Regions from separate parts of the Homo sapiens genome. Here regions 1, 2, 4, 5 and 6 are each linked to region 3. The links are contacts of gene promoters, found by promoter capture Hi-C in blood cells and fetal thymus (Javierre and others, 2016). All regions are on one chromosome and are shown on one strand. The core of a region is centred on a gene start or on the middle of the fragment in contact, and the rest is flanking DNA. Distances in the headings are between cores, read along the strand shown.

Region 1 (3,977 bases), core at 296-2,795, 1.3 Mb before region 3:
AGTTTCCCAAACCATCCTATGGATGAAAATCTGTGACCTCAAGGGACTGAAGTCATACTAATGAAAAACCTAAGAAGCTGAAGAATGTCTCCCCCTATTGGATGATTTAGCAAATGTACAGCATGAATTCCTCATCGAATCTCATCAAAAGTCAAATTCTTATGGCAGTAGGCCAGTATTTCTCAAAATGGGGCCAAAGATACATTCTACAAGGTCCAAGAAGTTTCCATAAGACTTACATATTTTTGTTTTCATTTGTAATTAAAAACATTAATATCCATATTCTGGATTATCTGTGTTGTGAGTATAAATTTCAGTGCCCAGGCTTGTGTTTGCTCCATGATCTCACTGGCACCTAGCTGCCCACTGCTGTTACAGGCAGACATGAATATGATACATTCTTGCCAAATCAACACTAACCAGGCAAGGCAGGCTACACGATTAAAGGTTTCAAAGTATTTTAAATAGAAAATGCAGAGGGGCAGTTGAGTAGAGTTGGGTATGTGATAGCAGTCTGACCAAAACCCCCTCCCTTCTTGCCCTGAGCAGCACTTTGGTTTCAGCAAAATCTCTTGTCAATGTAACTGAATGTTTTCAATTTAAGTTTTGCAGGCTGTTTGGGTTTATTTGTACAACTGCTTTCTGATTTGACTTTCTGACTCTGAGTTATGAGTTCTAAGCATCAAGACTATGGAGTGTTACCTAGTTTAGGACTGTATACATTTAAACAATTTAATATAACTCATTTAATGCTGGAAATCAGACTGATGAGCTCATCTATTCCTGCTGTCATCATCGGATAAACTCAAAACCAGTTAATACAACTCTCTATAAAGACAGAAGTCCGGAAAGTCCTTTTCCTATGGTTTCCTCTTTTGGCCACTGTGGCTCTCTGCTCTTCTCTCATTCTGCTAGAGAAGCAGCAAGAGGAAAACAGAGGAGGGTCCCTCTACTTTCCTTACAATTAAGGCTTAAAGAAAAGTGCTCATTTTTCTCATCTTTTACTCCAAGGAATCCAAGTTTCCCTAATTCTACGAGGCACCACATCTGGAAGACAGGATTACTGTGTAGGCTTAATTAAGGCAAACAGGCCAGAACCTTGCTTTTAATTCAGGCTGTAGGCTCCAGGGGCACACACGTTCCAGGTTCAAAGGGACAAAGAAATCATAGTTGGCTGTTGAGACAAAGCACTGCAGTGAGACATCCCATCCCCTCTGCATCTCAACTCTTGGGATGGGCCATGGGGAGCTGCTGGATCAGTGACTCAGGGTCTTGGCCATCTTTCTTTCTACAAAGACAGCTTCACAGCTAGAAAGGCTCTTAGGATTACTCTGCCCAAACAATATTATAGAAAAAACAGAGTATGACAACTAAGAAAAATACTGAAATAATGCTAAAATACAACGCCGACTCTTCATATGATAGGAGAAAAATGTCCAAATTGAGAGGAAAATTGGTGGATAGTGGTGGTGCTAATGCCTTTTGGTGCTTCACTGTGAAACCACTGACAAGAAAAGAAACACAGTAACTTGGGCATGACCTTAAGGCTTCTGGGGCAGTGCTGATGAATATGAAGATAGTTAATTTAAGAGCTACACAAGTACAACAGAATTTCTGTTCCTTATCATTAAAAAGCACATATTTAACGCCTAACTGTCCAAGGCATATAGTCAATGGGCAAATAAACCTTTCATCTTTTGCTTTTCAGAATTCTCATTCAACCTAAAAATGCAGTTCTCCATGGCCTAAAACTGGTTCTCCAGAAGAGCAATTTCTGATACCTCTACTGGGGACACAGTGAGAACCAACACAATCTTTTTAAAATAAGTGTTGTTCCAAATGATGGCTTCTCTTTATTTCCAACATGGCACCCAAGTATCTGGTTTTAAACTGCCCTAAAATCCTATATGCCACTATAAGAGAAAAACAGGCAATTGAATTATGAGAACAGTGAATATAAATCAAACAATCATCTTTTAAAAAACTGCTTCTGGCTGGGCGCAGTGGCTCAGGCCTGTAATCCCAGCACTTTGGGAGGCTGAGGTGGGCAGGGCAGACCACCTGAGGTCAGGAATTCGAGACCCCCTGGCCTCGCCTGGCCAACATGGCAAAACTCCTTCTCTACTAAAAATACAAAAACTAGCCAGGCGTGGGAGCACATGCCTGTAATCCCAGCTACGCGAGAGGCTGAGGGAGGAGAATTGCTTGAATCCGGGAGGCGGAGGTCGAAGTGAGCCAAGATCGCACCACTGCACTCCAGCCTGGCTGACGGAGTGAGACTCCGTCTCGAAAATAAATAAAAAGTAAAAAACATGCTTCTATTATCCTTTCAAATATTCAAAATTCCTAAGGAGGCTGGATGCGGTGGCTCACGTCTGTAATCCCAGTACTTTGGGAGGCTGAGGCGGGTAAGGTCAGGAGTTCGAGACCAGCCTGGCCAACGTGGTGAAACCCCGTCTCTACCAAAAAATATAAAAAAGTAGCCAGGTGTGGTGGCGCGCACCTGTAATCCCAGCTACTCGGGAGGCTGACATAGGAGAATTGCTTGAATCTGGGAGGCGGAGGTTGCAGTGAGCGAAGATTGTGCCACTGCACTCCAGCCTGGATGACAGAATGAGACTCCATCTCAAAAAAAAAAAAAAAAAAATTCCTAAGGACTTTGCAATAATCTTAGGTATTCTCTCTTCTCAGAAGCTAGTCAGTCATTGAAAGCCTTATGACTATTTGGGATCTGGGAGCTGGTCCATGGGTTAAAACTGGAACATTTACTCACTATGTAGTCTTCATCTTCGTCCTTGGGGCCAGGGCTGTAATACACTCTGTATGCTCTGGCCACTTGATCGACCTCTTCTCTCGTGCCAGTCAAGCCAACCAGTTTGGGAGAAAATTCTAAATAAAAAATGAGAGAGACAGTGAAAAATGAGAAGCCAGTAAAACAACCATCTCTACTTCAAAAAATGTATCAGTTGTAAAGCAGCTCTACTGCCACTTTCTTCCTGTGAGTCTCCAAACATTTCTTCACGATTCAAAGGAAAAGGAGAAGAAATTCACAAAGAACAAATGAAAATTCTCCTTTGTAATATATAAGTCAAATCTTTTTATGACTATCTAGTAAAGACCTGGAGGGAATATTTTCTAATCACTTGTATCACATTTTAAATTGATTTTTAAGGAGTAGTCACATGTAGTTCTCAGATATACTAAAGCTTAAAATTATTATCATAAATTAAATACTATAACTTTTCATGGCATCATATGGGGAAAAAAATTTGCTTCATAACTAAGTTCATATCAGGTCAAAATACCTGTGTCTTATTTTCCTGCAAATAATTTCAACACTGGTATCAAGTTCTACTCTTTACTTCTGATTTAAAAAAACTGGTTAATTAATACTAGTCATCCCCAAAACGCAATCTTAACAAAGTTCTGAAATAAGGGCAAATCATTCACAGCGTGTATCTGCTATTAAGTTTTTGGAATTCATGTAAGTGAACCGGTAGAGGTCACTTAAAACAACTGGATTCATCAAACTACTGAAATGACAGCCCAACATTTAACAGCAGTTCCTTTTTCTAAAGGTACAGAAGCCAATTTTTGTTCCTTGGATGAACTCATCATTCTAAATGAGACATTGTTCAGATTCTGAAAAGACAGGCTTTCTTTTTCCACTCTGAGTAAATAAAGAGAAAGGTGAATGAAGCCTGAGTTAGCTGCACATTCAAACTTTTTTTAAAACTAAATTGCTGAAACTGCATTTTTTTCTAAATACCAAATTAAAGTTTTAAAAATCTCCCCAAAATGCAACTAGTAATGACTACATCATCAATCGCTATGTTCTGTTGAAAATTACCATAAAGTCTGGTGTTTTGGTTAGGTACAGCAACTCGAATGTCTACTCATTTGGGGATATTATGGTTTGGTTAGTAATATGTGATTTTTGCCAATATAACACATGTTTAAATTGAAGACTGTGCATA
Region 2 (4,532 bases), core at 2,033-4,532, 1.3 Mb before region 3:
AGAATCAGGTTAAACCTACATTGCTCAGAGATAGACCAAGATTTTTATAGAAAAAGAAATATAAATGGCTCTGAACCATATGAAAATGTGCTCACTTTTGCTCTTAATAAGAGAAATGCAAGCTAAAACTACCCCTTTCTCAACGATCCGATTAGTAAAAATTCAAGATTTTGATAACATACTCTGCTGGCAAGGCTATGGGGAAACAGACACTGTTAGCCATGGCTGGTTGGGATGCAAAATGGAAGAGCCATCTGGAGGGGAATTCGGGAGTATATAGAAATATGAACTATGCAATTACACTTTGACCCAGTAGTCTCACTTCCAGGAATTTATCTCAAAGACACACTGGTAAAAATATGTTAGATATATGCATATGGCTATTAACTGCAGCACTATTTTTAATAGCAAAAGCCTGGATACTATCTAAATAGTAGAGAACTGGTTGATTAAGCTATGGAGCCATCAGCAGAGTAAGAAAAGTTTTTCTATACTATAGAATGATCTCCAGGATGTAGTAACTGGAAAAGCAAGTGGAATACAACTGTGTACAATACACTGCCAGTTACCTTAGATAAGCAGGAATACAACTAAGTCACACATTTGCTCCACTGAAAAATCATGGAAGGATAAACTATAAAACTGAAAAAATTTTCCCCCATAGGGAAAGGGAAGCTATAGGGTCAGGGGGCTGGAGAAGCCGAATTTCTTTTAATATATCTTATTTTATAGATTTGACTTTTGAGCCATGTAGATATTTTACATAATTATAAAATAATATCAATATATTTTCAATACAATTAGCCCTAGAAATAAATGAATCTAACTGTGTATTTACTTGGTGGGATTAGCATACAGAACACTATGCCCAGTAATTTGAGTGTACATCCCTTAGTAGGTTATATCCTAATAACAAAAACAAACAAGAGAACCTGTTTTCAGTAGTCATATTATCATTTGGAGATTGCATTTGTATTGTAGAATAAATCAAATGGGTGATTATGTTGAGGTCACTGAGACTAGAAATTTTGCCATGATTAAAAGGAGATCCAGATATAAAATGTTCAATAAGGTTAATAAGAACTGGTACCTCTGAATTTGAGTAGTTAGTATAAACTCATAAGACATCTTAACTTTAAATGTATATGTGTACGTGTATATATTTATGTATGCATATACATTTATGACATATATATGAATTCACGAACATTGCAAACACTGTTGATTCCAGGTCTGTGGCCTAAAACATGATCCTGGGTATAACATGCGCCTGGAACATCTTGTCATACCAGAAAGCAAGGAAGCTATCAAAGGTTTACTAGGGTCATGTCAGAAAGAATTCAGGAGCAGACCTGAATAAGTGCCACTGGACAAAAATGGGACAGTCTGAGCATCAATAAAGACAATAACTGTCACGGACTGAAACACATTAAATATGTTTAAACTGGCCGGGTGCAGTGGCTCACGCCTGTAATCCCAGCACTTTGGGAGGCTGAGGCAGGCAGATCACTTGAGGTCAGGAGTTTGAGACCATCCTGGCCAACATGGTGAAACCCCGTCTCTACTAAAAACACAAAAATTGGATGTGGTGGCACCTGCCTGTAATCCCAACTACTTGGGAGGCTGACGCAGGAGAATTGCTTGAACCCGGGAGGCAGAGGTTGTAGTAAGCCAAGATCGCGCCACTGCACACCAGCCTGAGCAACAGAGCAAGACTCTGTCTCAAAAAAAAAAAAAAAGAAAAAAAGAAAAAAAAGAAAAAAAAAATAGTTTGGCAGTGTGGCGTGGATAAGGTTCAGATAAAACAAGATTGGACATACCAATAATTGTTGAAACTGGGTGATGAGTATATCTGATTCAAGATATTAGTCTCTCTGCTTTTATATATGTTTGAAAATTCAAAATAAAAAGTTAAAACAAAAAATTAAAAATATTCACAAAAAGTTGTTTTTCTCCAATAATTGTCTTACATTCTACTTTGTTGTTAAAATTGCAATATTGTATTTCATTTGGCTGGTGTTTGTAGTTTTTTTTCATCTTTTGACTTTAAATCTTTCTATATCAGTACAGTTAAGGGTTGTCTTTTTAAGCAGTGTAGAGCTGGGTTTTTCTTTCTTTTTTTTTTTTTTTGAGATGCAGTCCTGCTCTATCGCGCAGGCTGGAGTGCAACAGCACTACCTCAGCTCACTGCAACCTCCGACTCCCGGGTTCAAGCGATTCTCTTGCCTCAGCCTCCCAAGTAGCTGGGATTACAGGTGACCAACACCACGCCTGGCTAATTTTTTTGTATTTTTAGTAGAGACGGGGTTTCGCCATGTTGGCCAGGCTGGTCTCGAACTCCTGACCTCAGTTGATCCGCCTGCCTCGGCCTCCCAAAGTGCTGAGATTACAGGTGTGAGCCACCTCGCCTGGCCTAGAGTTGGGTTTTTAATCTTTTTACATACTTTGAGATTCTTTGACTCTTAACTGAAATCTTTACCTTTACATTTAATGTAATTTCTGATATATTTGGGTTTAAATCTATATCTTAACACATGCTTCCTATTTGTCCTATTGTTTCTGTTTCCCCTTCCCCTTCTCCTGCCTTCTGTACTCATTTTAATGCTACCAGTGGTTACCCTAATGATTACAACATTAATCCTTGACTTATCAAAGTTTAATATAAATGGATACTTTTATCTCTTCTCACACAATTAAAGGACCTTAGAATGCTTAAACTCCATTTACTCTTTTCCAGCTTTTATGCCACTGTTGTCATGTATTTCTATCCTGTATATGTTTAATTAGTTAACATTCATCGATATGTACACACGCACTTATATTGTCTTTGCTCTTCATTCTTTCGTGAATCTCTAAGTTTCCTCCTGAGATCATTTCCCTTCACCCTGAAGAACACCCTTTAGGCTGACAACTGCCCATGACTATACTGGGCCTTGTAGAAAACTACGGTTTTTGTGGACAAGAGTGACCAGGATACTTTAAATCAACTATTATTAACTTCCCTTAAGAAAAGGGAAGATTTCTTTCAAAAGATTCCTGTTTTTACTTGTATGGCAGTATTTTCACTTACTACCTGATTTTGTCAGCCTCGAAGATGTGATTTCTTTTTTTTTTTTTTTTGAGAGAGTGTTGCTCTGTCGCCCAGGCTGGAGTGCAGTGGCACAGTCTTGGCTCACTGCAACCTCTGTCTCCCGGGTTCAAGCGATTCCCCTGCCTCAGCCTCCCAAGTAGCTGGGACTACAGGCGCGTGCCACCACACAGGGCTAATTTTCTGTATTTTAGTAGAGACAGGGTTTGACCATATTGGCCAGGATGGTCTTGATCTCCTGACCTCGTGATCTGCCCGCCTCGGCCTCCCAAAGTGAAGATGTGATGAGTTGAATACTTACTTTGAGGAACTGTGGCACAGGATAATCCATGCTGTAATAATCACCAGACCAGACAGCTCCCTATAAAAGGGTGTACATTTCAGATTTTGGAAGTGGCTACAAGTGAGATGCATATCATCACATTCTCTCCATGACCACCTGATAGCGCATTCTGATTGAGTGACTGACTCTCCCTCAAGATCTATGGCATCGATGGAATATTTTCAAATCTGACCATGATTCATAAATTACTTTTTTCAGAGAATTTAAAGCCTCATATGAAAATACATTTCATCTTAAAAGGCAGGTATGAGATCCCTGACTATGCCCTGATTTATAAGTGGATCCCCCCAAAATGAAATGAATATTTTATAAAATCCACAGATACATCACTTTTTTCAGGTCGCTAGAAGAAACAGTGCAACTAAGAAAATCCCAGATTTGATCAGTCAATACTTTTACATTTTTAAAGAGGCTTCAGTGTGAGGCAGAATGAGCCCAAACCAATACATGATCTGTGTATATACTACAAGAGATTGGGTCACTTCCTAGGGGAGAGGAATGATTTGTAGTACAAATCAGACTAATAATTTGGGGGTGGGTATATGCTTCTATAAATATGTATTATATGCACATATCTTTTACATAGAATAAAAAACAATCACTTCAGCCATAATACCACTAGAAGCCCCAGGCTGAGTTCACTATAACCCATGGGCTTCATGCTGGAAGTGATTCAACCCATTTGGTCTACATTCTTATCTACAGACCCAACCTATAGTTTGGCTCTCCAGTGTTCTAAAGATTGGGGGTTATAACAAAGAAACACCTTTTCAGTGATGTTTAACTTACAGGTCTATGAATTTTGTTGTTGGCAGATGGCAGTAGGAGTAGAAAAGAAACAAAAGGACCTATTAATAAGTCCTCAGAGACAAGGGTGGGAGGAAGCAAAGGAAGAGGTGATAAAATAGGAGCAAGTGGTCATGACAAGGAAATGACACAAGACATACCAGGGCAAGTCTAACAGGTTGACTTAAAGTACTGATCTTTTGGCTGGGTGCGGTGGCTCATGCCTGTAATCCCAGCACTTTGAGAGGCCAAGGAAGGCGGATCACGAGGTCAGGAGTTCAAGACCAGGCTGACCAACGTGATAAAACTCTGTAT
Region 3 (3,955 bases), core at 1,434-3,933:
CTTAATTGCCTTCCCGTCTCCCCAGTGATTATGCCAGCTACCACCATTATTACTAAAAAGGTTAACTTTTTTTAAGCAATTCATTTTTCTGAACTGTGTATTAGTTTGCTAAGGGATGTCATAGCAAAAGAACCAATAAACAACATAAATGTATTTTCTCACAGTTATGGAGGCTGGAAGTCCAAGGTGTAGGCAGAGTTGGTGTCTTTTGAGGACACACTCTGTGGCTTGTAGATGATCATCTTCTCCTAGCTCTGTGTGTCTGCATCCTAATCTCTTTATAAAGACACCAGTCCTATTGGATTAGGGCCCACTCGTATGACCTCATTTTACTTTAAAGACCCTATTTCCAAATATAGTCCCATTCTGAGATGCTGGGGGTTAGGACTCCAACATGTAAATTTGGTGAGGGAGCAGAATACAATTTAGTCCATAAGAAATCATAAAACACAAATATGTAAGAGAAATGTGAGCATAAGAAAAAGTTAAAAAGCTCATACATAGCTTCCTCAGTTGGAACAAATCAAAGTGCTTTCTTGTTTTTGCCATATGCACATCTAATTATTGGCTCTTACTAGTTTACAATACCAACAGCAATGCAAGTATATGTCAGTTTTATCACAAACTCAGAATTAGGTATTCTTAAAAATAAGATTAGTTATATTTTTATTGTATTTCTCTTTTAATTCAGTTTCCCAATTTCCCTTAATGAATTTGCTAGGTTGAAGGTTTTCCTATATATATATAAATATAACTATATATATACATATTTTTTTTAATAGATGGAGTCTTGCTCTGTCACCCAGGCTGGAGTGCAGTGGCACAATCTCGGCTCACTGCAACCTCTGCCTCCCAGGTTCAAGCGATTCTCCTGCCTCAGCCTCCCTAGTAGCTGGGATTATAGGTACCTGCCACCACACCGGCTAATTTTTGTTTTTTTCTGTATTTTTAGTAGAGACAGGGTTTCACCACGTTGGCCAGGCTGGTCACTAACTCCTGACCTCACGTAATCCACCCGCCTTGGCCTCCCAAAGTGCTGGGATTACAGGTGTGAGCCAACATCCCCAGCCTTCTTTAATATATGTTATTTATAATATTGGATGTGTGTGTGTGTGTGTGTGTGTGTGTGTGTGTGTGTGTGTGTTTAAATTAATTTTCTAGTAGTTGCCTAATCTGTAGTGCTGCTTCTAGGATTTCTATTAAAAGAATATATATTAAATTCTTATTAAAGGCCAGTTATGATGGCTCATAATTAAGATGCCCTAGGAGCAACAAGAGCTGGGTGGGCTACTGATTTCCAGATGGGAATCTGGCCATGTTTATAAGACCTGGACTTGAAGATATTGGGCAGCCAACGAGGCCCATGGAGGAGAATTCTGGCGGGCTCTCCACTGAAGTACACCTACCTGCTCTCACCTTCAATTTGCCTTTAATGCCTCTCCACTTGATGTTTACGGCTAGCCACTTTTAGGATCTGAGCCATCAAGATGATGGATGAAATTGGGTTTGGAACAAGAAGGCAGGGCTATTTTGACCCAGGACACATTTCCAACATGCTGTGAAGAACTCTCAGCATCAAATAACATCTGGGTGGAAGAAGTTTTGGGAAAGAAGTCTAGCTGTAGATCACACAATGCTTCTAAATGGGAGAAAATGTCCAGCTCCATGGCTTAGATTCTTTGGGAAGTAGGATAACTGGCTATTCCATTTTAGGCAAGGCTGCCTGGCCAGAAACCCATGTCTTACCATTTCGAGTACATTATGGTTGGCTTACAAATCGTAGCCTCATAGAGAACTTTTTCTTCTTTTAGCTACTGTCTTCCTAAAATAAAAGTCTCTGTGCAAAGCAATGGAAGAAACCTCATATTGTTTTTTGGGGTTGTCATTTTATGTAACTTACAATAATGACTACGGCTCGTCTTATACAAGATGTAAAGGATTTGGGAGAGGGAATCCAGTGTGCATTTAGGGGAAGATGGTGATGTAGATAGCATATTTCAGGAGGCTGGGAAGTGTCGAGTGCTTAAATATATGCTTCTCAAATTTAATGGGCATACAAATTACCTGGTGGTATTATTAAAATGTAACCTCTAATTCAGTAGTTTTGGGATGGGTCCATGGACAGCACTTTGGTTAGTTCCCCTTGGGACTCCCCTTTCCCCTCAGAGAAGTGTAGAGGGTTGGGGTATTGGGCTTAAGAGGAGTTCCAGACTGTAACCATAGCTCTAGGTAACTCCCTTCTGGAAGTGATGTGTTAGCGACTGGAGGAGAAAGGGATCCCTGGGATCCTTTTCAGCTTTACTATTCTGATTTGGGGTTCTGAGATTCCAACAAAGTGGACTTTTGGGAGTCACAGACCTCCATGGGAATGATGAAAGCTGCGTACCTTCTTTCCGCACAAATGCAGGCCCACCTTTAATTCTGCAAACCACTTTAGGCCCCGCGGGCCCGCAGCCCTGGTCCAAGACAGCTGTCTGCTTCACAGGTCGCGCACCCAGAGCCGGGCGGTTCTGCAGCTCAGCATCTGGCCCGGGCTGCGCGTCGGGCTCTGGCGGGGGCGTGTCAGGAGGCGTGTCCGGGGCGTGTCGGAGGCGGGGCCAAGGCGGGGGTAAGCCTCGCCCCTCGGCCGTGCGAGAGGCCGAGCTTGCTGCATTGCAGCCGCCGCGGCGCCGCTCGGCTCTTCACTCCCAACAATGGCGGCTCCGAGCCCGAGCGGCGGCGGCGGCTCCGGGGGCGGCAGCGGCAGCGGCACCCCCGGCCCCGTAGGGTCCCCGGCGCCAGGCCACCCGGCCGTCAGCAGCATGCAGGGTAAGGAACGCGGCCGCGCCGAGATCCCAGCCCCCTAGCGCGGCAACCCGCGTCGTCGCGGCCTGCCCCAGCGGACGCCCCCGGACCCGGCTGAGGAAGCCACGGCAGCCGCCGGCTTCTCCCTCTCTCCCTCCCCGGCTTCCCGCCCCGCTCCCGGCCGCCTCCGGCCCGGCTTGGATCCGGGCTCCGGCCCGCATAGGCCCCGGCCGCGGCCTCTGCCTGCGCTTGGCCCCTGGGCCCTACCGGGCTCTCAGCAGGCCCGCAGGGCCCACCTGGTCCGGGACCGCCCCCGCGGCCGTCCCCATCGCCCCCGCCGCTTACCTGGCGCCCGCCCGGCCCCCGTTTCCGGGAACGCGCCGGCTCGGGGCTGCGGCGGAGCGGGAGGGGCGTCGGGCCTGCCCCCTGGTCCCTGACGCCGCTCAGGTAGGCGGCGAAGACAGCGGCCCCGGCCGGCGCCCCTCGGCCCCGCCGCCGCAGTGGGCCCCGCTCAGGGCCATCTTGGCTGTCGCCGGGCACAGCTGGAGCCGGACCACCGAGCTGACCTCGGGCTACGGGGGCCTCTTGGAACCTGCGTTTTCAAACTTTTGCAGGGTTTCTGTGCGCTGGAAGGGATGGGGGTGGGGGGCGGGTTGCCCAGGCCTGTGCCACCTGTAAGGTAGGTAGGCTGCATTGGCCTGGGAGAGGCATTTTGTTCCAGGCCAGGGATTTCTGTGTTAGCATTGCGTGCAGGAAGAAAAAAAAAAAAAAAAAAAAAGAAGACTTAATTTGGTTTAAATGGAGAGATACAGGAAATAGACAGGGGTCAAAGTGATACTGTAGTGTCTGGACATTTGAGGCAGCTCTGCTAATTAATGACTTTCCCCACTGGGAATGCTTATTAGCTGTGTATGGCTTTTGACAGGGGGTGTTGTGAAAATACCAGGCCAGGCCCGAGCCTGTTAGGGACCATTTCCTTAAATTTACTGGGGAATTTTGAGTAGTAATGCTATTTTTAAAACAGGGAATCTCAGAACTCTCTTGACAACTTTAGCAAACTGCTTGTGTTGAATTATTAACAGAATAAGGGTTGGGGTACCCTTGGTAGTCAGTGTGACCATGGTTACTTTTTGATTCCATTCCTCTTAAAGGGCTTCTAGCATTTAGTTAG
Region 4 (3,941 bases), core at 684-3,183, 1.0 Mb after region 3:
GGAATTACTCTGGCTCCATCTGGCAGACACCATGCACAGCTTTCCCTGCCTGGGGTCAGCTACCTCCTCAGGCCTCTAACTCAGGAAGTTGGCTGGACACAAGGCCCATGTCTCTGGGACCCACCAATCTTTCCGATCCCTGCTCCACAGATTGGGAAATGTTTTTCAAGAGAGATAACGAGCAGGAGTTTCTCTTCTCCTTCCTTAGCTTGAAGCTTTTGTCCTCTCCATGTCCCCAGGGGCTTAGGCTTTTGAAACCAAATCCTGGAAGACTTCTTTGTTCTCAGCTCTCTCTTCTGCCTAATTCCTCCAGAGAGTGGGCCTAGCTCTTTGGTGAGGGAAGGGCACAGGGGGACTTTTCCTGGAAGAAAAAGTTGGTTAATATTTTTAAAGACATTACCCCACCTCATTGGTGACAATCGATCATGTCAGCGCATCTCCTTTTCCTGGCCATGTATTTTACTTTTCTTTTCCCTTCCGTCACTGCTTCCCTGCGCCTCTATAATGTCATAAAGGAAGGGAGACGAGCTCAAAGCTTTGAATATACCTGACCATTACTGACTCAAGACAATGCTACAGGCTCCTGTTTTATAAGAGAAAAAGAATTCATGGAAGCTTTTCTGGAATACGGCTTTATGTTCATATTCTACCCACTCCTCTCTCTCTCTCCTCATAACTAAAGGGAGCTGGTAGCAACCACCCTGCTTTGCAGCTCAGCTGGTAGAATGCCTGGAGAGCAGCCAGTGGCCTGGGTTCAATCTCCTGATAAGTCATCAATTTCTTTCTCACCCAAAACATCTGGTTTGGGATCCTGAGTTATGAGCTAATATTAAATATAAAAGTTTATAGCATCACATATATAATGCTGTTGATTAGAAACATCAAGAAAAGTAATTGACTGGAAGGGACTTGGTGTGACCAGCTGCTTGAACATCTGGATGGTATCCAAGGGGCCTGAATTGAATTCCCAATTCATCCATTCGTTCTTGGCCAGCAGTATCTGGTTTGGGATCTTTAAAGATTTGACTCTCCTCCTTGGCTATGGCTTTTTCTCAATGTTTTATACATAAGCGTGTGAGTGTGTGTTTCAGTTAACTGAAAAAAGCTAAAATAAAATCAATGTAGTTTTTATCTTCTCTTGCATCTGTTCATTAGACATTTATGGTTTTTATGATTTCCCGAGCCTCATCGTGTTACCAACAATGAACACTAGGGGGCAGTGTACACTCATGTTTTTCCTCCATGGGCTAAGATGTGTGAAGAGTGCCCCAATCCACCTCTCCATCTGGTTTGCAGTTGAGATGCCCAAGAGCGGGAAGGGTTCCTACCAGCATGGGGCTTTGTTCTCAGAAAGCTTCTCTAAGATACGTTACTTAGATACATCCGTAAAATCCCTCAGTCAACTGCACCCCTGTGGCCTATAGCCTGAAGTTAACCAAGTCTTTTCGTGACAGCCTATGTTCTGTTTGCTGAATAGCTGCCTCTCCTTCCTTTCTCTTTTCTGTTGGGTTTGGTTCCTGCCAGAACAACACGGATTTGCCCATCTCCCCTGACACACTCCGGTCCAAGGTTTAAGCAGGGCAGTCATTTCCTTACTGGAATCCCTTCCCAAACAGCTTCTTCCCAGGCTATCAGGCAGAAAGTATTTTGCATCTCCTGTGCCAACTCAGACTGAGGTAGCTGCTTGGAGTATTGTTTTGAGAAGGCCTCAGGGTCCAGGCTCAAGAGCAAGAATGCTATGCTCGATTGGCAATGTCTTCCTCCCTTCCCTTCCCTCCTTCCTTCCTTCTGTTCCTACCCCACTCCTTCCCTCCCTTCTCCCCTCCACTCCTTCCTCCTTCCTTTCTTTTTTCCTTTTTTCTTTTCTTTCTTATTGAATTCCGTTGAAGAGCCAGGTACTGGGCTAAACATTTCAATAGTGGACAAGATCATCTTGGTTTCTGCCCTCACAGAATTTACAAACCAATGGGAGAGACAGTAAAAAAACTGGGCACGTGGTAAGCCCTATGCTAGGGAAGCAATCGCGTGGTGTGGGGCACGCAGAAGAGGTACCTCACCCAGGCTTGGGGGTGAGTGATGAAACAAGGATGCATACCATAAAACCAAGGAGGGAAGGGGCAAAGAGTCAAGAGTCAAGGGGGAAATGTTAGAGCAGAAAAATACATGCAGGCAGCTCTTGCTTTTCACTTTGCTGCTCTGAGTCAATCTTTGTCTAGAAACCACCCATATCCCTCACCTGCAGATGTCTTAAGTGGCTCTGGGCTATTGGAGTGGCAAAGTCTACGGCCTGCAGTGGCCAGGAAGGTAAGATGGGTGATCCAGAGGATCAGAGCAAGCTAAGTCTCTGTGCTCCATCTGAGGGGGTGGTGCTCCGTCTTGAGCCAGGCAACAGTGGCTCTGTAAAACGCAGGCTCAGACAGTGTCAGATCTCGGGACTGTTTTGCAATGGAGGCTGAGAACTAGATTTTATGTGAAATTTCCTGAAAATATTTACTAACACTTTATGGGCCAAAAAGCTTAGGCATGAAGGCAAATTTAGGCCCTTGGGGATCTCTGGCCTAATGGCGCCTTTGCGTCCATGTCCGCCACCTAGTGGTGGATGTGGGTTCCTTCACTCTGTTTTTCTGTAACAGCAGCCGGAACCAACTTCCTTCCTTGCTCCCTTCTTAAATTTGGCTTTTGATTTCCAAAAAAAAAAAAAAAAAAAAAAAAAAAAAAAAATTGTTATGAAACGTTTAGGGTGCCACCCTGATGGCGGTTTTCGCCTTTCTTTTCCGGAAATCAGTGAAATCGAAGTTGGGGCGGATGGGGATGATGTTGAGAAGGCTGTTTGGGACGTGGGGGGTGATGACAGTGACGGGCTTGAGCACCTGCTTTGCTGGTGTGAACTTGCAGGCTGATTCCAACCGATTGAATGAAATATGATTACCAGCTTGACCTGTCTGGAGTCCAGATCCGGAGACTCTGAGTGCTCCTTGCAACATTAAGGATATATGATTCCATCGTGAGAGTGGGCCTTCTCAGCCAGGGTCTCCAGAGCCTTAGGGCTTTTTTCTGAATGGGCTGAATTCATGGTGGTCTTTGAGCCCCCTAGAAATTGTGTGCAAAAGTGTTTGCTTGTGCATTTTTCTTGGAGAGAGCTGCTAGCCTGAGTCAGATTCTCAAAGGGCCTATAACTCAGGAAGGGGAAAGGCAAGGCTGAAAAATGGGTTTCTCAAACTGAATGAGTACCCCAATGCTTGTTAAAATGCAGATTGTGGCTGGGCTCGGTGGCTCATGCCTGTAATCCCAGCACTTTGGGAGGTCAAGGTGGGTGGATCATGACATCAGGAGTTCCAGACCAGCCTGGCCAACATGGTGAAACTTTGTCTCTACTAAAAATACAAAAATTAGCTGGGCATGGTAGCGGGTACCTGTAATCCCAGCTACTCGGGAGGCTGAGACAGGAGAATCACTTGAACCCAGGAGGCAGAGGTTGCAGTGAGCTGAGATCATGCCACTGCACTCCAGTCTGGGCGACAGAGTCCATCTAAAAAAAAAAGTGCAGATTGCTGGGTCCCACCCCCAACGTTTCCGATTCAGTAGGAGTGGAGTGGGACCCCACAAATTGCCTTTCTAGCAAGTTCCCAGGTGATTAGACCACACAGTGCGGACTCCTGGTGGCGAGTAACAGCACTTAGAGAACAGGTCTCACGCATTCTGCCCTGATGCTGGAACTCATAGTTGGGAATCTTGCTTTCAAGCACAAAGCAAAAACAAACAAACAAAAAATGCACTGTGTTTTATTTCTGGATGCTGCCTAACTCCTAATCCCATCCTTTGCTTTGTCAAAAATATTTTAAAGATTCTGGGCAACAACTCTTCCTTTTGGACCTTTGACTTAATGATTTGCTGCTTAGAAGCCAAAAGACAGTGAGCTGGCTTCTGGAGAATGGGAGGCT
Region 5 (4,077 bases), core at 1,182-3,681, 1.3 Mb before region 3:
CAGTGGCTCCTTGTGGCCACATGACTCCAATCTCTTCACGTTACCTTCTCTGTGTCTGTCCTTCTGCTCTTCTTTTATAAGGCAATGTATCATCAGATTCAGGACCCACTTGGACAATGCAGGATGTCTCATCTTGAGATCCTCAATGTAATGTTTGCAAAGACCCTTTTGCCAAATAAGGTCCCATTCACAGGTCCCAGGGGTTAGGATGTAGACATCTCTTTATGGGAGCCACCATGATCATTGTAGAAACCTGGAAGTTATTCCTGACACCTCATCTTTCCTCCTCTCTCAGTCCACCACTGATTCTGGTGAACTTTTCTGCTCAGTAGTCCCCCATTTTTATTGCTGACACCTGGTCCCAGCGATCAGCATTTCCCCTCTTTGAACACATTAACCTCCTAACTGGCTTCCCACCCTGTTATGGACTGACTTGTGCTCCCCCTGCACTCCCTAGTTCATAAGTTGAGTATTTGGAGATAGGGCCTTTAAGGAGATAATGAAGGCCAATGAGGGAGTAAGGGTCGGGCCCTAATCCCACAGGGCTGGTATCCTTACAGGAAGAGGAAGAGGCTCCAGAGCTGGCTCTCTCCTGGCCCACACAGAGGAAAGGCCATGTGAGGACACAGGGAGAAGAGGGCATTTATAAGCCGGGAAGAGAGGCCTCACCGGCCACCAACCCTGATGGAACCTTGATCTTGGACTTACAGCCAGCAGAGCTATGAGGAAATCAATGTTTAAGCATCATCCTAGTCTGTAGTGCTCTGGCAGCCTGAGCAGAAGAATACTTACTCTGTGCTCCGTCCCACCCAGTCTCCACACTGCAGCCAGTGACTGTATGAGACACAAATCTCCAATTTCTGCTTAAGACCCTCCCTCCCTCCCTCCCTCTCCTCCCTCCCTCCCTTCCTCCCTTCCTCTCCTCCCTCCCTCCCTTCCTCTCCTCCCTCCCTTCCTCTCCTCCCTCCCTCCTTCCCTCCTTCCCTCCCTTCCTCTTCTCTCTTCCACTCTCCTTCCCTTCCTCTCCTCCTTCCCTTCCTCTCCTCCTTCCCTTCCTCTCCTCCTTCCCTCCCTTCCTCTCTCCGTTCCTCTGTCCCTCCCTTTTTCTCCTCCTTCCCTCCCTTCCTTTCCTCCCTCCCTCCCTTCCTCTCCTCTCCTCTCTTCCTCCCCACTCCCTTCCTCCCTTCCTCTCTCCTCCCCTCACCTCCCTTCCCTTCCCTTCCCCTTCCTTCCTTCCTTCCTTCCTTCCTTCCTTCCTTCCTTCCTCCCTCCCTTCCTTCCTCCCTCCCTCCCTCGCTTCCTCCCACAGATGGATCCAAGGCACTCATCTAAGCACTAAGGATATAGCAGTGAACGAAACAGACAACTCCCACCTGATGTTCTTGTGTGAAGCTTACCTTCCAGCACCCCTCACTGCCTATGGCTCTGGGGTTAAAAACCAACATTTGAACCTGGTCTGCAAAGCCCTGCGTACTCAGAGCACTGCCCAGCCTGGTCAGCCTCCACTTGTTCCAGCTCACCTTCCTTCTTCACCACTTCACGTGCACACACACACACACACACACACACCCCTGGCCCTGTGGTTACACAGCCTCTTCAGTCCTTCCAAAGGGCAGTGCTTCTGCCCTCCAGAGAGCTTTCAGACACTGCATTTCCTTCTGTCGGGAAGGGTCCCGCTTTGCCTACTTTGTCCTCTTTCCACTCTTAGCCTCCTTACGTAAGCCTGTCACAGGCTCTTAGCAGCTGTCACATCTCCCTTGCAGCACTGACCACAATGGCCATTAAATAATTAACTGTACAATTAGTTGTTTAGTGTCTGTGTAGCCCACAGAACAACAGGCCCATGAGAACAATCTCTCTCTCTGCTTTTGGTTCCTGCTACCTTCCCAGGCTTAGCGGGTTGAACTCGGTGGGTTCTTATTAACTATTGCTACAGGAAAGAGCCAAGGAATAAATGAATTATTTAAATCCTAATAAGCCCCTCCTATCCTTTAGATATTTTTGTTCCCAGTTTATAGATGTAAAAGTAAGGTGCAGGTGCAGGGTGGTTAGGTAACTGGCCCAAGGTCACCCACTTAGTAACAGTGGAGACTGAAGTAGAAATCCAGAGCTTTCTGATTTCAAAGATCAGGCTCTAAACAGCCACGACTCAAGCCCAGTTTGCTTTAAATGATGATGAGAGAATTCTTAACAGAAAGTCAGAAGCATCCTAACTAGAAATTCATGAAAGAATAATTTTATTTTATTAAAAGAATTATTGCAATCAACAAGAGAATGGATAAACAAACTGTGATATAATTACATAATGGAATACCACTAGCAAAAAAGAGAAACAGACTACTAACATGCTGTCGCATCCATGAATTGCAAAAACATGCTGAACCAAAGAAGCCAGACACAGAAGACTACATGCTGTGTGACTCTATGTGAAATTCCAGAAGAGGCAAAAACCATGGATGTGAGAGCCATTAGGTCAGTAGTTGCCTTTGGGGTGAGACAAGGAGTGTCTGGGAAAGAGAATAAGGGAATTTTCTGGGGTGATGATAATGTTCTGTATCTTGATGGAGATTTCAGTAACCTATTTGTGTATGTATTTGTCCAAAGTCAGCATCCATACTCATGAGATATGTTAATTTCTCTCTTTGCAAATTATATCTGGAAAACCAAACAAACTCTTAAACCAATATTGAACTGTAGTTTGTGACATGCATGCTGAAGTGTTTGGGGTGACGCGTACTGACGTCTGTAGCTTGCTTAGAAAATAAGATGGATGCTGGTGGACAGAGGGAGGAATGCATGGACAGACGCGGGGTAAAGCGAGGAGAGTAAAATGGTACATGTAGAGTCTAGTGGGGGGGGGGTGTGGGTGTTCACTGCTCAAAACTTTCCAACTTTACTGTATGTTTGAAAATTTTCATTATAAAATGTCAAAAAAAAGTTCATGACCAGCCTGGCCAACGTGGTGAAATCCCGTCTCTACTAAACATACAAAAATTAGTTGGGCGTGGTGGCAGGTGCCTGTAATCCCAGCTACTTGGGAGGCTGAAGCAGGAGAATCGCTTGAATCTGGCGGGCAGAGGTTGCAGTGAGCCGACATGAAGCCACTGTACTCCAGCCTGGGTGACAGAGTGAGACTTCATCTCAAAAAAAAAAAAAATCAGTCAAAAAAAAATACAGTAAGCTGAAAAAATGCATTTCAAAAGCAGCTAATGTTTATGGTAATCAGTAAACAATCCAAAGATGCATGCTAGAAAATTATTCACCGTTTTTTATTAAAGGGGATGATTGGCAGGGAGAATGTGGAGAAGAGGCCCAGGAGTGGGGTTGGGAGATGCCTAATTCTTGGCAGGATCTGGAAGAAGAGGCAGCTGGTGGGATCTTCTTCAGGGTAGAGAGGTTACAGAATACGAGACTGAGCCTTTGAGGGCAGCCACCTCCTCCCTGAGGCCTCTGGGGTGGCAGTTAGTTCTCAAAGCTTGTTTCATTTATGGTCCAGCACCATAAGTGCTGTTGCTGACATTATTGGCTTGGCAGTGAAATCAAGCCTGCGCCCTTGGGGGCGGTGCGGGGGTCTTGCCCGGATGGTCGATGTGATGGTGTCAATGGCAGAAGGAGGCTGGAGACGTGGGCACTCTAATCTGATCCCCAACATTCACTGGTTATGTGGCCCTGGGTGCATCACTGAACCTCCTCTGGCCTCTGTTGCCTTATCTGTAAAATGAAGACAATAATATTTAGCTTGCAGGGCTGGTATCAGAATTACATATTCTGACATTATCAAGGTCAGCTGTGTGTTGCCAAGTCTGAGGTCAAGCCTCAGTCCCCTGTTGCTCCCTTTATCAGTGGCTTGTGACACAGTTGATCAGGCCCTCTGCCTTGAAACACTTGGTGCTCTCTGCCAGGGGACATCACTCTCTCTTAGGTCTCTCTTAACCTCCCGGGCTACTCTTCCTCAGCCTCCTTTGGTGAATCCTTCTCTGGTGAATCCTCCTCTTCGCCCAAATCACAAGTTGGGCTAACCCCGGGGCCCAGTCCTCAGCCCTCTTTTGGGCTCTCCTTACACCCTGCCCCATTTCC
Region 6 (4,044 bases), core at 544-3,043, 1.1 Mb before region 3:
CCCGCCACCTACGTCCCAAATGCCCATCAGCAGATGAATGAAGAAGCAAATCGTTGTACATTCCCACACTGGAGTACCACTCAGCGATAAAAAGGAGTGAACTATTGATACGACAACATGGTTGCATCTAAAAATAATCACGCTGAGTGAAAGAAGGCGGACAAAAAAAAGCATGCATACTGTCTGATTCCATTTCTATAAAATGCTCAAAAATACGCACTGATTTACAGTGACAGAGAGCAGAGCGGTGATTGCTTTTTAATGAGGCAAAGGGAAGGGTGGGAGGGATGGATGCTAAAGGAGTAGAAGGACGTTTCTGGGTGTGATGGATGAGTTCCTTATCTTGATTATGGAGACAGTTTTGTGCATGTATCAAATTGCATCCTTTAAGTACGTGCAGTTCTTTGTAAATCTATTATGTCTCAATAAAACTATTTAAACATTTTTACTGTTGGGCATATTCAGACAGGGTCTTTTTCTTTCTTTATTTTTATTTTTTATTTTACTTTAAGTTCCAGGACATATGTGCAGGACATGCAGGCTTGTTACATAGGTATACGTGTGCCACGGTGGTTTGCTGCCTCTATTGACCCATCCTCTACGTTCCCTCCCCTTGCCCCTCACCCCCCAACAGGCCCTGGTGTGTGTTGTTCCCCTCCCTGTGTCCATGTGTTCTCATTGTTCAACCCCCACTTATGAGTGAGAACATGTGGTGTTTGGTTTTCTGTTCCTGTGTTAGTTTGCTGAGAATGATGGCTTCCAGCCTCATCCATGTCCCTGCAAAGGACATGGTCTCATTCCTTTTTATGGCCGCATAGTATTCCATCGTGTATATGTCAGACAGGGTCTTTTTCTAGAAGGGCCATGGCTGGTTCTTTCCTGGACCACCCATCACAGGCTCCTTCCCCCACGCTCAGTGTAAGTGCAGCTTGCATCTTTGGCAGCCTCTGTATTCAGCTGTTGCCTATTACCTGTAGACTCTTTAGGAATGAGCCTGGCTGCCACCCAGGCTTCAGGGAGCCTCGATAGTTCTCCTTAAGTCCTGTCCTTTCTCTGACCTGAGGTGTTGGACCCGAAGCTTGCTCTCACACATGTGTGGAGAGCAACCCATATAAAACACCAATATCTCTCTTCAAAGATCTAATCCTTTGCATCTCTTTAACCTCCTGTGAGTCTCGGCTTTTTCCTCCATAGCCTGGAGACAGGTGCACATCTATTGAAAGCAGCAGTAGCTTTTGGCAATGCCCTTCGCCAAGCCTACACATGTGGTTCAGCATTACAGTGGGTGTCTACTTGGCACTCATTGTTTTTAGCTTTGGGGTCACAGCTGAAACTCTGAGATGACAAAAAGTCTCATTTTAATGACCTGTTTCACTTCCCTTTGGTTCACTGGGATACAAAGAGATGAATTTTTCCCAATATATTTTTAGAGGCATATTTATCATAAGAGCAGGCCAGCAGCCTCTCTGAGTGCTGAGGCCCTAATAGGGACTTGCAGTTATTGTATACCTACACCCCCACAAGGCCCCCAAAGATGCAGAGTGGACCTTTTGGTCCCTCTCCTCCCTTTGTCTAAGGACATCAGATAGTGATCATAAATATTCATCCCATCTATTTCCTGATGCTGGGAAGGGAAAATATTGCAAACACCACGAGCACTTGTTGAAGACACACATACGCCAGGCACTGTACCCAGAACTGACTCTACAGTGGTGATGGACAGGTCCTGCCCACGTGGATCCCCCAGTCTAGCAGACTGGACAACAGGATGGTGGCCTGGAGAAGAGGGTGAACATAAACTGGTGGACAAAGGGCCACATGGTTCGCCTCCAGAGATCTTCTTTAGAAAGGAGTCAAAGGGCTGGGCGCGGCGGCTCATGCCTGTAATCCCAGCACTTTGGGAGGCCGAGGTGGGTAGATCATGAGGTCAAGAGTTCGAGACCAGCCTGACCAACATGGTGAAACCCCGTCTCTGCTAAAAATACAAAAATTAGCCGGGTGTGGTGGTTCACACCTGTAATCTCAGGTATTCAGGAGACTGAGGCAGGAGAATCACTTGAACCTGGGAGGTTGCAGTGAGCTGAGATTGCGCCACTGCACTCCAGCCTGGGCAACAGAGTGAGACTCTGTCTCAAAAAAAAAAAAAAAAAAAAGAAAAGAAAAGAAAAGAAAAGAGTCAAGGGTGAGCAGTGCAAGGCTGAACAGCTTTCCATATTAGCCAAATACACCACCTCCGTCAGGATCCTCCCTCATAGAAGTCACCAGCACAGAAATGAGTCAGAACATTGTCACGTGAGCAATGGGAGCAGAATCTCCCCTCCTCGTGTCCTTGCTGCTGGGCCACAGGCCAGTGGTAGGCCTCTAAAGGGTTTAGAGTCACACAGGATGATGAAGGGGACAAATCAAGAAGAAAAGAAAAAAGGGAGCTTGCCAGGCACCTTCTTCTGCACCTCCAATTCCAAATGCACTCAGTGGATGCGTGGGAAGTGCTGAATCACATATGAAAGCAAAGCTTTAAACAGGATAGACCAAGCTTTAACAACAACAACACAAAAGCTTGAATGTCTACGAAGTTGGATCTGCATCTCATGGAGAGCCCAGGAGGTTTTTGCAGAGTACAGCTGGTAATAAAAATATGGAGGATCTAGGCCAGGTGCAGTGGCTCACGCCTGTAATCCCAGCACTTTGGGAAGCCAAGGCAGTCTGATTGCTTGAGCTCAGGAGTTAGAGACTAGACGGAGCAACATGGGGAAAACCTGTCTCTACAAAATACAAAAAATTTAGCAGGGCGTGGTGGTGAGCACCTGTAGACCCAGCTACTTGGGAGGCTACTTGCTTGAGGCCAAGAAGTTGAGGCTGCAGTGAGCCGTGATCGTGCCATGCATTTCAGCCTGGGTGACAGAAGACAGAAAAAGACCATGTCTTAAAAAAAAAAGAGGAAGATTTACCATGCCTCAGAGACTAAGTGCCTTACATTGTAATATAAAGTCTTTGAATCCTCACAATGACCCCAGGAGGTAGGTGCTGTTATTAACATCGTCCTTTCCTCCATGAGGCTAATAAGACACAGAGAGATTAAGTGTCTTGTCCAAGGTCATAGAGCTAGAACCTTGACTCCAGAAACAGCATCTGCAACCCCCAACCCCCCACCCTCGCGGCCTTTTGCCTATTCTGCAATCTCATGAAATTTCCTTTCCTTCTTTGAGGCCAGGAGCTCTCCAAGGTGCTGGAGAGAGGCCCAGAAGCAGCGTAGAGAGGCAGCCCCGCCAGACCCTGCAAGACCATAGTAAGGACCAGGATTTTATTTTGAGAATTAAGGGAAACCACAGGCGTCTAAATGAATCACTGCTGCTTCCGCGCTGTCATAGCCAGCACTCTGGCTGTGTCTCTATTTAGCACTTGAGAGCTGGCTGTTTACGTGCCTACTTCTCCTTCTGGACTGGAAATGTCTTAGAGCAGGGACTGCATCTTAGCCATTTTTATATCTTCTTCACGCTGTCCCAGTTACACAGCACAGTGCTGGCATATATTAAACATTTAGTACCTGTTTATTGAATGAAATTAAAGTAGAAATGGATTCTTAATTATCTTTGAAAAATCTCATTTTCCGGCAGCCCAATTAATTTCAAAGAGACTCAGGAATTTCTACAGTATCATGGCAATAACAATGGTAATGTTAATTCCGGTTACTAAGCTCTCAGTGTTACATGCTGGGATTTGGGCAAAACACTTTATATCACCCTTAGTATATTGAGAGAGAGGTACTCTAGGTCCTCCCAGTCACTGGTAGTCCTTTCCCAAGCAGAAGACTCACCTGGGCGAGCTTATAAATCCCAGAGGTTAAGGAGAATACGATTTCACAGGAGTGGCCACTAGGTGGTGGTGTGACACCATCATCACCTCGCCGTGGGCTAGTGGGCAACTTGGACCAATTGCGCGGGGCCGGTGGAGTGGCTGGGGGCCTCTTGGGAATCAAGATGGCCAAGATGGGGGTCTGTGCACCAAACTCTGTAGTTGAAGTTGAGGGCTTTCCAGTTTATGCTG

Evidence for each region. Contacts are between HindIII fragments. The CHiCAGO score rates a contact against its expected background, and 5 or more counts as called.
Region 1: a contact is called between a fragment that was not itself captured here and the fragment with the promoter of MAP2K4 in region 3, in 6 of 17 cell types (activated CD4 T cells, M0 macrophages, total CD4 T cells and 3 more). The highest score is 9.0, in activated CD4 T cells.
Region 2: a contact is called between a fragment that was not itself captured here and the fragment with the promoter of MAP2K4 in region 3, in 1 of 17 cell types (total CD4 T cells). The highest score is 6.1, in total CD4 T cells.
Region 4: a contact is called between a fragment that was not itself captured here and the fragment with the promoter of MAP2K4 in region 3, in 7 of 17 cell types (total CD4 T cells, naive B cells, naive CD8 T cells and 4 more). The highest score is 9.9, in total CD4 T cells.
Region 5: a fragment that was not itself captured here is called in contact with the fragment with the promoter of MAP2K4 in region 3 in 1 of 17 cell types (total CD4 T cells); the score reaches 7.6 in total CD4 T cells.
Region 6: a fragment that was not itself captured here is called in contact with the fragment with the promoter of MAP2K4 in region 3 in 1 of 17 cell types (endothelial precursors); the score reaches 6.5 in endothelial precursors.

Annotation. Positions count from the first base shown.
Region 1 is chr17:10,683,954-10,687,930 of GRCh38, forward strand. It overlaps SCO1 (synthesis of cytochrome C oxidase 1), which reads right to left. Exons shown (of 6, transcript NM_004589.4): 5 at 2,774-2,889. Among named protein-coding and RNA genes, the nearest start is that of SCO1, 12 kb to the right of the region's middle. The HindIII fragment of the contact is 3,317 bases long and covers 1-3,204 here.
Region 2 is chr17:10,719,881-10,724,412 of GRCh38, forward strand. TMEM220 (transmembrane protein 220) reads right to left here. Exons shown (of 6, transcript NM_001004313.3): 5 at 3,390-3,449. Among named protein-coding and RNA genes, the nearest start is that of TMEM220-AS1, 7.6 kb to the right of the region's middle. The HindIII fragment of the contact is 9,230 bases long and covers 1-4,532 here.
Region 3 is chr17:12,018,194-12,022,148 of GRCh38, forward strand. MAP2K4 (mitogen-activated protein kinase kinase 4) reads left to right here and starts at 2,684. Exons shown (of 11, transcript NM_003010.4): 1 at 2,684-2,808. The coding sequence starts at 2,694. It also overlaps a transcript of ZNF18 not described here. RefSeq lists an enhancer at 2,484-2,984 and a silencer at 2,521-3,400. The HindIII fragment of the contact is 6,257 bases long and covers 1-3,955 here.
Region 4 is chr17:13,029,400-13,033,340 of GRCh38, forward strand. No RefSeq gene overlaps it. Among named protein-coding and RNA genes, the nearest start is that of ELAC2, 13 kb to the left of the region's middle. The HindIII fragment of the contact is 1,162 bases long and covers 1,353-2,514 here.
Region 5 is chr17:10,738,013-10,742,089 of GRCh38, forward strand. The region is part of intron 1 of TMEM220-AS1 (TMEM220 antisense RNA 1); the gene reads left to right. Among named protein-coding and RNA genes, the nearest start is that of TMEM220, 10 kb to the left of the region's middle. The HindIII fragment of the contact is 2,083 bases long and covers 1,391-3,473 here.
Region 6 is chr17:10,872,282-10,876,325 of GRCh38, forward strand. It overlaps LOC124903926 (a long non-coding RNA gene), which reads left to right and starts at 2,907. Exons shown (of 2, transcript XR_007065619.1): 1 at 2,907-4,044. The HindIII fragment of the contact is 1,434 bases long and covers 1,077-2,510 here.